2 separate regions of the Homo sapiens genome follow, and region 1 is linked to region 2. The links are contacts of gene promoters, found by promoter capture Hi-C in blood cells and fetal thymus (Javierre and others, 2016). All regions are on one chromosome and are shown on one strand. The core of a region is centred on a gene start or on the middle of the fragment in contact, and the rest is flanking DNA. Distances in the headings are between cores, read along the strand shown.

What was found. The method cuts DNA at HindIII sites, captures the fragments that hold promoters and counts their contacts. A CHiCAGO score of 5 or more calls a contact.
Region 1: a fragment that was not itself captured here is called in contact with the fragment with the promoter of P2RY8 in region 2 in 4 of 17 cell types (naive CD8 T cells, total B cells, erythroblasts and 1 more); the score reaches 9.3 in naive CD8 T cells.

The regions. Positions count from the first base shown.
Region 1 is chrX:2,609,379-2,614,618 of GRCh38, reverse strand. It overlaps LINC00102 (long intergenic non-protein coding RNA 102), which reads left to right. Exons shown (of 2, transcript NR_037842.1): 2 at 923-1,628. It also overlaps the pseudogene CD99P1. Among named protein-coding and RNA genes, the nearest start is that of MIR6089, 2.8 kb to the right of the region's middle. The HindIII fragment of the contact is 6,762 bases long and covers 356-5,240 here.
Region 2 is chrX:1,535,023-1,540,824 of GRCh38, reverse strand. It overlaps P2RY8 (P2Y receptor family member 8), which reads left to right and starts at 3,640. Exons shown (of 2, transcript NM_178129.5): 1 at 3,640-3,904. The HindIII fragment of the contact is 32,946 bases long and covers 1-5,802 here.

The DNA.
Region 1 (5,240 bases), core at 2,487-4,986, 1.1 Mb before region 2:
GACATTCATGCTAGTTTCAAAGCCAGCCTTCTAGTTCTTTTTTTTTTTTTTTTTCATATGGAGTTTTGTCCTTTTGCCTGGCTGGAGTGCAGTGGTGTGATCTCGGCTCACTGCAACCTCTGCCTCCCGGGTTCAAGCCATTCTCCTGCCTCAGCCTCCCGAGTAGCTGGGATTACAGGCATGCACCACCATGCCAGGATAATTTTTGTATTTTTAGCAGAGGCAGGGTTTCTCCATGTTGGTCAGGCTGGTCTTGAACTCCTGACCTCAAGTGATCCAGCCGCCTTGGCCTCCTAAGGTGCTGGGATTACAGGTGTGAGCCACCTTACCTGGCCCAGCCTTCTAGTTCCAAGCTTTTCAAATCCCAATTAAGGTCGAGGCACATTTTATATTGGGAGTGATAAGGGAGGCTCAAATGAAAGAAACATGAGGGGCTACATCAAAATGAATCTTTTTTTCAAAACCATATTAAAATACACAAGCAATGAATAAAAAGCACATGATTTTTCACATACATTGTATAGAAATAAGAAATCTCATGGTATGAGAACCTATGTGTTCAGAAAAAAAGTATACTAGAAGAGAAAGACACTTATTGAAATGACTTATTTTATTTAAAGGTGAATCTCTTTGGGTTTTTGTCCTAATGTCTGGAAAAAAAGTTGTCTACCATATTTACAACTCTACATATTAAAAGTTGTCCTGAGTCTTCTAGCAAAGGCCATAGAACTAAATTACAAATAAACTGTAAAGAGAACGTATAAATCTAGGAACAGGGAAAATTTTAAAAACCCATTACCAAATAACATGACCAACTTCTTAGAAAAGGTCAGAAATGAAGAGAAAAAAAATTGAAATTTAACAAAGGGTCATCATTTCATGGATTGCAAAAAATATATACACAATCTCTTCTACATGACAGAAATAAACAGAAAAATAGTGGACATGAAAATGGATTCAGAGTAACAAAAACAAGGAAAAAACACTTTAGAAACCCATTGACAGAATCAACAAGAGGAAGAGACAAATCGAATCTCAAAGAAAAAGCTCAGGCCGGCATGGTGGCTCACACCTGTAATCCCAGCACTTTGAGAGGCTGAGATGGGCGGATCACCTGAGGTCAGGGGTTCAAGATCAGCCTGGCTAACATGGCAAAACCCCGTCTCTACTGAAAATACAAGAATTTGCCGGGCATGGTGGTGCATGTTTGTAATCCTAGCTAATTGGGAGGCTGAGGCACGAGAATTGCTTGAACCCAGGAAGTGGAGGTTGCACTGAGCCAAGATCACGCCACTGCACTCCAGCCCGGGCGACAGAGAGAGACTCTGTCTCCAAAATAAAAAAAGGAAAGAAAATAAAAGAAAAAACTCAACATTGAAAACGTGTTACCATTCCTTCAATCAACCTATGGTGATAAACAATTCAAATGAAATTAAAAAGAAGGTTTTACTTCTCTGAAGAGAAGGGACAATAGCAAAATGATTCTCAATTTAAAAGGAAAAAAAGTTACAAAAAGCAGGATATCCACACAAACATAAGACACCATAAAAAAATAAACATACCACTTGTAAAACATTCCTGTTAAAAATATTCAAAGGCAAAAATAAAGTGCAAAACCATTTTCATAATAAGTGGCTGGTAATCTTTAATATTGATAAATCACTGAAGAAGGCTCATACATCAGTAGGTAGGGAGGCTGAGGCAGGCAGAACATCTGAGGTCAGGAGTTCCAGACCAGCCTGGCCAACATGGTGAAACCCCATCTCTACTAACAATACAAAAATGAGCTGGGCCTGGTGGCGGGCACCATGAATTGAAGGATCAAAGCCAAAGCATCCAATACACAAAAGAAGAAGTCTCCGTGGCCCATTGGGATGCATTATGCTTTTTACATTTCAGAATGAGAGATGTAAAACTAAGACCGGTTTGATATAATAATTACACTATTTGACAAAGGTTTTGTAGGTGATAATTGCTACTGGAAAAGGTTCGAAGACAGGGACATTTGCAGACACCCTGGTATCAAATCAAATTGGTGCAATTCTGGGGCAAACAACCAACCAGGTTAAAAGCTATAAAAGTACTCATGAGCATTGATCTAGACAATTTGAATGCCAGAAATCTCTTCAAAGGAATGAAAAAGAGTAGACAAAGTTGACTCAAATTGGCTTTGTAATTCATAATTCTAAAATGTCAGAAGACACAATGTTTTCAACATTAGGGATTAAAGGAATTAATGTATTTTATTATATATTTAGATAGAATAGTATTTGTCAGTAAATGTCATATGATAGAAATGAGAAAACATGAGAAAATGTGAATTAATATTCTTATGAATAAGTATAAAATAAAGTTACAATAAACAATATAGAGACCACCCGTAGGGTTAGAGGCTCTTACCAGTGAAACCAGGTCGGTTGGGGTTTGGATCTGGCTTTGGTTTGGGGGCATTAGGTGGTGCTGGGTCACCTGTTTGTAAAACATGAGAGTTGCAATCATCAGTACCTAGTAGTCAAGAAAATGAAAAATCAATTTCCATAGCGACCAGAAAATGAAAAATCAATTTTGATAGCGACCAGAAAAGAAAATGAAAAATCAATTTCCACAGCGACCAGAAAATGAAAAATCAATTTCCATAGCGATGAGAAAAGAAACTGAAATATCAATTTGCACAGAGACTGTTCACTAAACAGGTAAAAACTGGCCCTTGTTTTTGTCATGGTGGGGATACCCATACACGTAGCCTCCTGCCAATTCCCTTCTGTTGTCTTCCAGGTACAGGATTTAACTTCAAGTATTTTCAAAGAAAACTAAACCAGGTGTGCAGACCACCTCCAGAATTTGGGAGGGCCTGTGAAAATGAAAATGTGCGACCCATTGTTCCAACTGTATGAAGAATCTGAAGATGGCAGCAACACAGCAATAAAGCAGCATGGCACCCTTGTGTGCACAGGTCCCTGTGTGACTGCGCAGATCTATGCCCACGAGGCCTGACCTGGCCAAGGGAGTCACATTTGCCTTACGTTGTTCCAAAGACTAACCATTTTAAAATAAAAGCCAGCATACTGGCTGGGCGTGATGGCTTGCACCTATAATCCCAGCACTTTGGGAGGCCAAGGTGAGTGCATAGCTTGAGTTTAGGAGTTAGAGACCAGCCTGCTCCACATGGCAAAACCCAGCCCCTACTAAAAAGACAAAAATTAGCCGGGCGTGGTAGTGGGTGCCTGTAATTCCAGATGCTCAGGAGGCTGAGGCACAAGAATCGCTTAAGCCCAGGAGGCGGAGGTTGCGGTGAGCCGAGATCGCGCCACCGCACTCCAGCCTGGGCCACAGAGTGAGACTCTGAACCTACACTTCAAAAAAAAAAAAAAACAAAAAAAACAAAAAAACCAGCATGCTGGTAACAAAAAAAAAATATATCAAAAATCCAACAACAAAAATAAACAACACATATACTTCCTATGTTCCCACTGTCCAAACTCAATCCATTTATCACGCAAAAGAGATGTCTTGAAAATGATAATAATTCAATGACAATCAGCAAAGTCAGCAACAGAGGAGACTTTAAAAAGTTACTCACTGTTTCCTCCATCAGGAAAGGCATCGCTAAGTCAAAGTCAGCCCTTAAAGGAGGGAAATGAGCTGTTAATACCAATGTTCTGAGAAATGAGGAAGGAATGACCCAAAAACAGGTGGAGAAAACACCACGGCCCCACGTTTCTAAATACTTCAGAAAACGTGAATTCCTATCTTCTCATCACTCTTCCCTCAGGTGAAAACAGTAAAAGATGAGCATGAGACAGAAAAAGAGGGAGTAAGAGAGAGAGAGGAGAGAGAAAGAGGGGGAGAGAGGAGATAGAGGAGAGAAAGAGGAGAGGGAGGAGAGGGGGGAGAGAGAGAGGAGATAGATGAGAGAGGCGGGAGAGAGACAAGAGAGAGAGGAGAGAGAAGGAGAGAGTGAGGAGATAGAGAGAGGAGAAAGGCGAGAGACAAGAGAGAAGGAGACAGGAGAGAGAGAGATGGGAGAGAGAAAAGAGGAGAGAGAGGAGAGGAGAGAGAGAGGAGAGAGGAGAGGAGAGAGAGACGAGAGAGAAAAGGAGAGAAAGAAGAGGGGGAGAGAGAGAAGAGGGGGAGAGAGAGAAAAGGGGAGAGAGGAGAGAGGTGAGAGAGAGGCGAGAGAAAGAGGAAAGAGGGGAGAGAGAGGGAGAGAGGAGAGTGAGGAGAGAGAAAAGCGAGAGAAAGAAGAGAGAGAAGAGAGAGAGGGAACAGGAGAGAAGAGAGAGAGAGGAGAGGAGAGAGAGAGGAAGAGGGAGAGAAGAGGAGAGAGAGAAAGGAAAGAGAAGAGAGGAGAGACAGAAAGAGAAGAGAGACTGCAGTATCCATAAGATCCATAAGAACGTCACCAGGGTTGGGGGGGAATCGGATGCCACCTCTTCCCCAGGTTCCCCTAAATTTAAGAGTTTGCGATTCTGCAAACTGTAGAAGGAAAATTAAAACTTGGAACCCCAGTTCACTCTGCCAAAATAATTAATAATAATAATAATAAAGCTGGAAGCTGAGTCAGGCAGGAAGCTGTCTTTCCTTCTGTTCCCAAGCAGACAGTGCAATAACTCTCTGTTGACCTTATCTTAGTAAAGTGCCAATTTAGTGAGCGCAAGACAAATACATAATTGACTATTCTACCTGCTGCTTTTCTTTTGCAACAGGTGAATTCGGTAAAATGAGCCTTCCTCCTTCTTTCCCCTCCAGCGTGCTTTCCCCCTTTAAATACCGAAGCTCTCAATAGTATCTTTGGAGAAAGGCATAGACCCGTCTCCCGGGCTCCTTCCTGATCTTCGCCGAATCAACTCAAAAGGATTGGGACTTGTCCCAGATACTTTTTGGTTTACGAAAGAAACGCTGGCTTTTTCCTCTGAAACGGCTCCCACCTGGCCCCAGGAAGAGCGCTGGGGAGAAAGTGGGCGCCTCCTCCGGACCTGGGTCCCCGTGGGCACAGCGCGTCCCGCCGGGCACGGAAGAGGGGCCGGGTGTCCCCGCGGGGCGCCCCGCCCCTGCACCCCACATCCCCAGGCGGATCCCCAGGCCCAGCCCGCGCCACCCCCCGCGTCCTCCCACCCGGATCCCGCCGCTCGCTCACCGGGGCGGCCACCAGACGGCGGAGCAGGCCGAGGAGCCGCAGCGCCAGCACGGCCCCGCGCGCCACGGCGCGCCCAAGGCGAGCAGAGATCGTCCGCGAGTGC
Region 2 (5,802 bases), core at 2,391-4,890:
TTTTTGAGACAGAGTCTCACTCTGACGCCCAGGCTGGAGTGCAGTGGCATGATCTCGGCTCACTGCAATCTCTGCCTCCCGGGTTCAAGCAATTCTCCTGCCTCAGCGTTCCGAGTTGCTGAGACTACAGGCATATGCCACCACGCCTGGTTAATTTTTGTATTTTTGGTAGAGACTGCAACCTCCACTTCCCGGGTTCAAGCGATTCTCCTGCCTTAGCCTCTCTAGTAGCTGAGATTACAGGTGTCTGTGACCATACCCGGCTAATTTTTGTATTTTTAGTACAGACAGTATTTCACCATGTTGGCCAGGCTGGTCTTGAACTCCTGACCTCAGGTGATCCGCCCACCTCGGCCTCCCAAAGTCCTGGGATTATAGGCATGAGCCACTGTGCCCAGCCTTTACTTTATTTTAGATTCCGGGGGTACATGTGCAGGTTTGTTACAAGGGTATCTTGTGTGATGCTGAGATTTTGGGTATGAATGATCTCATGACCTAGCTACTGAGTTTAGCACCCAGTAGGTAGTTTTTCAGCCCTTCATCTCCCTCCCTCCCCACTCTAGGAGTCTGTAACGCCTCTTCTTCCCATCTTTTTTTTTTTTTTTGAGACAGAATTTTCACTCCTGTTGCCCAGGCTGGAGTGCAGTGGTGCGATCTTGGCTCACTGCAACCTCCACCTCCAGGGTTCAAGCGATTCTCCTGCCTCAGCCTCCTGAGTAGCTGGGATTACAGGCATGTGCCACCATGCTCGAGTAATTTTTGTACTTTTAGTAGCGACTGCAACCTCCTCTTCCCGGGTTCAAGCGATTCTCCTGCCTCAGCCTCCCGAGTAGCTGAGATTACAGGTGTCTGTGACCATGCCCAGCTAATTTTTGTGTTTTTAGTACAGACAGGGTTTCATCATGTTGGTCAGGCTGGTCTCAAACTCCTCACCTCAGGTGATCCACCCACCTCGGCCTCCCACAGTGCTGGGATTACAGGCATGAGCCACCACGCCTGGCCTGTTGTTCCCATCTTTATGTCCATGAGTACCCTGTGTTTACCTCCTGCTTATAAGTGAGAACATGCGGTATTTGGCTTTCTGTCTCTGTATTAATTTACTTTGGAGAATGGCCTCCGGCTGGATCCAAGTTGCTGCAAAGGACATGATTTCATTCTTTTTCACAGCTTTGTACTATTCCATGGTGTCTATGTACCCCATTTTATTATTTTTTATTTTTATTTGTTTATTTATTTATTTTTTGAGACAGAGTTTCGCTCTTGTTGCCCAGGCTGGGGTGCAGCGGCATGATCTCGGCTCACTGCAACCTCCGCCTCCCGGGTTCAAGCGATCCTCCTGACTCAGTCTCCCAAATAGCTGGGATTACAGGTGTCTTTCACCACGCCAAGATTATTTTTTGTATTTTTAGTAGAGAGGGGGTTTCTCCATGTTGACCAGTCTGGTCTCGAACTCCTGACCTCAGGTGATCCACCTGCCTCGGCCTCCCAGACTGCTGGGATTACAGGCGTGAGCCTCTGCACCCGCCGGTCACGTACCCTATTTTCTTTATCCGATGCATGGTGGATAAGCACCTGGGTTGACTCTGTGTCTTTGCTATGGTGAATAGTGCTGTGATGAACTGTGAGTGTGGATGTCCTTTTACAGAACGATTTCCTTAATAAGGTGTTTTCAAACAGAAACACACATAATATAAAGCTACTTATTGATCTGTTGAAGAAAACACTGTGACCAGGGGCCTGAAGGATTCTTTTGATTTTTTTTTTTTTTTTTTTTGAGACAGGGTCTCTCTCTGTTGCCCAGGCTGGAGTGCAGTGGCATGATCTCGGCTCTCTGCAACCTCTGCCTCTCTGGTTCAAGTCATTCTCTTGCCTCAGCCTCCCCAGTAGCTGGAACTACAGGCCCCCACCATCACACCCAGCTAATTTTTGTATTTTTAGTAGAGACAGGGTTTCGCCATGTTGGCCAGGCTAGTCTTGAACTGCTGATCTCAAGTGATCCACCCGCCTTGGCCTCCCAAAGTGCTGGGATTATAGGCGTGAGCCACCAGGCCTGGCCTTTTTTTTTTTTTTTTTTTGAGACAGTCTCACTCTGTCACCCAGGCTGGGGTACAATGGCCCAATCTGGGCTCACTGCCACCTCCACCTCCTAGGTTCACATGCTTCTCCTGCCTCAGCCTCCCCAGTAGCTGGGATTACAGGCGTCCACCACCACGCCTAGCTAATTTTTGTATTTTTAAGGGACAGGTTTCGCTATGTTGGCCAGGCTGGTCTCGAACTCCTGACCTCAAGTGATCCGGCCCACCTTGGCACCTCAAAGTGCTGGGAATACAGGTGTGAGCCACCAGGCCTCGACTTTTTTTTTTTTTTTGAGACAGTCTCACTCTGTTACCCAGGCTGGAGTGCAATGGCCTGATCTTGGCTCACTGCAACCTCCAGCTCCCGGGTTCAAGTGATTCTCCTGCCTCAGCCTCCCCAGTAGCTAGGATTACAGGCATCCACCACCATGCCCAGCTAATTTTTGTATTTTTAGTAGGGACGGGATTTCGCTATGTTGGCCAGGCTGGTCTCGAACTCCTGACCTCAAGTGATCCACCCGCCTTGGCCTCCCAAAGTGCTGGGATTATAGGCGTGAGCCAGCAGGCCTGGTCTTTTTGTTTGTTTGTTTGTTTTTTGGGACAGTCTCACTGTCACCCAGACTGGAGTGCAATGGCCTGATCTTGGCTCACTGCAACCTCCACCTCCCAGGTTCAAGTGATTCTCCTGCCTCAGCCTCCCCAGTAGCTGGGACTACAGGTGTCCACCACCACACCCAGCTAATTTTTGTGTTTTTAGTAGGGACGGGATTTCGCCATGTTGGCCAGGCTGGTCTCAAACTCCTGACCTGAAGTGATCCACCCGCCTTGGCCTCCCAAAGTGCTGGGACTACAGGCGTGAGCCACCACACCCAGCCTGGCTTGAGGGATTGATTCTACCATGTCTTTTCCCTGAGCAGTGGTTCAATATTCATTCATTCTTTCTCAGTGACAGATCCTTCCCTCTCAACCTCCTCCCACGAGTGACAAGAACCAACCGTTGCTCCTCACAAGCAAGGATACCAGAGCTCGGAAACCTGGTTCTCATTCCTGAAACTGGCCGATCCCCCATGGGATGTTGAGGATATGAGCCTGCAGCGCCCGTGACCAACTGTGAGAGCCGGAATGATCAGTGCCCAAGGTCTGTTCGCTTGTCACAGTCTGGCTGTGTACCAAGAGATGTCGCAATGAGCACAGCTTTAGAGTCTAAAAGGAAACGTGTTCTGTTCTTTCTTTGTTTTGTTTTGTTATTTCAGAAGAAACAGGAATCGGTTCTGGAGCATGCCACGGCTCTTCACTGCTGGTTACAAAATTTAGAAAAATCATTCTCCCTCTTTTCCTCACTCTCAGGGTTCTCTTAAGAGTAGGGCCCCCTGCGAGCCAGTGATAGGGAGGTGGGCGGTTAACGGTGCTGCCCAGAGACACAGCGACGTTACTCCAGTGGGCTCAGCCCTGCACATGAGTGTTCAGACAGTTACAGAGGAAATGTCACAACACACTTCCTTTCCACCTAAGCCTGAGTCGCAACCGTGGTGGTGCGCTGGGAGGTGGAGTTTGCAGAATTTGCATTCGGAGACAGTCGTGCCAGCCGGTGGGCCACCCAGCGAAGCGGCCGCCTTTGCAAGGTTGCTGGACAGATGGAACTGGAAGGGCAGCCGTCTGCCGCCCACGAACACCTTCTCAAGCACTTTGAGTGACCACGGCTTGCAAGCTGGTGGCTGGCCCCCCGAGTCCCGGGCTCTGAGGCACGGCCGTCGACTTAAGCGTTGCATCCTGTTACCTGGAGACCCTCTGAGCTCTCACCTGCTACTTCTGCCGCTGCTTCTGCACAGGTGAGCCGCCGAGCTGGACTTTTATGCTTGTCCTGCACTGTCAAGGGAGAAGACAGGGTCGCTGGGAGGGTCCGTGTACGGTGAGAACATGGGGGAAGACGGTGCAAACTCCATGAGGCGTGTTCTCCTCACGCTAGAGCAGACCAGGAGTGCAAATTTCCTGGGAGGAAGACTTTGCACAGCCGCTTCGTCACTTAGGGGAGAAATGCTCAAATTTTCCAGGGCTGCAAGCCACCCTTCCTTTAATAACTCATTCCATGAACTTTCAGAGGCCGAGGTGGGCGGATCACGAGGTCAGGAGTTCGAGACCATCCTGGCTAACACGGTGAAACCCCGTCTCTACTAAAAATACAAAAATTAGCCAGGCGTGGTGGCAGGTGCCTGTAATCCCAGCACTTTGGGGGACCGAGGTGGGTGGATCATCTGAGGTCAGGAGTTCGAGACCATCCTGGCTAACACGGTGAAACCCCGTCTCTACTAAAAATACAAAAATTAGCTGGGCTTGGTGGTGGGCGCCTGCGGTCCCAGCTACTCGGGAGGCTGAGGCAGGAGAATGGCATGATCCCTGGAGGTGGAGCTTGCAGTGAGCAGAGATCACGCCACTGCACTCCAGCCTGGGCGACAGAGCGAGACTCTGTTTAGAAAAAAAAAAACAAAAAAAAACTCATTCCATGAAATGCGCCTCTCTTGAGGTTAACCTTAGAGAGGGTAAGCAGCTGCGGCTGCTGCACGTAACCCATTTACGCCTGAGATTGCAGTTTTTTCAATGTTTGCAATGAGACCTTGGCGATGACCTTGAGCCGTGGGATATAAATAACTCCCAAATGCTTAGCGTTCCAATAATGGAAGAGTAAGCATAAATTAAACGGGTTTTAAAGCCCTATGGGTGCCTGGATGAGCACGGTGGCCCCTCGTCACCCCCTCGGTGCCAGGGAGACCCCAGACCCGGGTCTCACGGCCACCTCAGACCTCATTTGTACAGGTCCGCTTAGAAACCCCAATTCCTTGGGTCTTGTCAGATCTGTCCCCTAAAAAGCTGAGAAAAGGCAGAGGGAGCTGCTCTGGGAATTTCAGGCCACACACAACAAGGCCTGCTGTGGCGCTTTAGGTCCCATTTCTATAAAGGGGAACCATGGTCACGTGGCTCTGTTCCCAAAAAGAAAAGGGTTTGTGTGTGTGTGTGTGTGTGTGTCTGTGTGTGTGTCTGTGTGTGTGTGTGTGTGTGTGGTTGTTTCTTCCCATGTTGTTATCTTTACGTAACGTGGATGAGAAGTCTGAAGCGCGAGAGCCCTAAGTGAAAACCGCTGAGGAGCTGAAGCCCGTGGGGAAGCAGGTGCACCTGACTGCGCCGTTCAATCTCTCCTTCCCGTTCCGTTCCTCCTTGCATAGCCCACTTGACTTTGGCAAGCAGCGCCAGATAGTAGCATATTTTGTGTTTACGGCGGTGACAGACGCCTGTAATCCCAGCACTTTGGGAGGCCGAGGTGGGTGGATCACTTGAGGTCAGGGGTTTGAGACCAGCCTGGCCAACATAGTGAAACCCCGTCTCTACTAAAAATACCAAAATTAGCCGAGTGTGGCGGCGGGCACCTGTCATCCCAGTTACTCGGCACGCTAAGGCAGCAGAATCACTTGAACCCAGGAGGCGGAGGTTGCGGTGAGCCAAGATCGCGCCACTGCACTCCAGCCTGGGTGACAGAGTGAGACTCTGTCTCAAAAAAAAAAAAAAAAAAAAAGGAATTATCCCACATTGGAAAAGCAGTACTTTCATTTAGGCACTGCCAGACAGGTGCCAGCGTCCTACGTGCACCAGGATGCTGCCCCTTTTCCCAAATATTGGCCTCCCCCACCCCACAAGAGGACAATTAGGTCAGAGGCTGAGAGAGGCGTGCATGGGA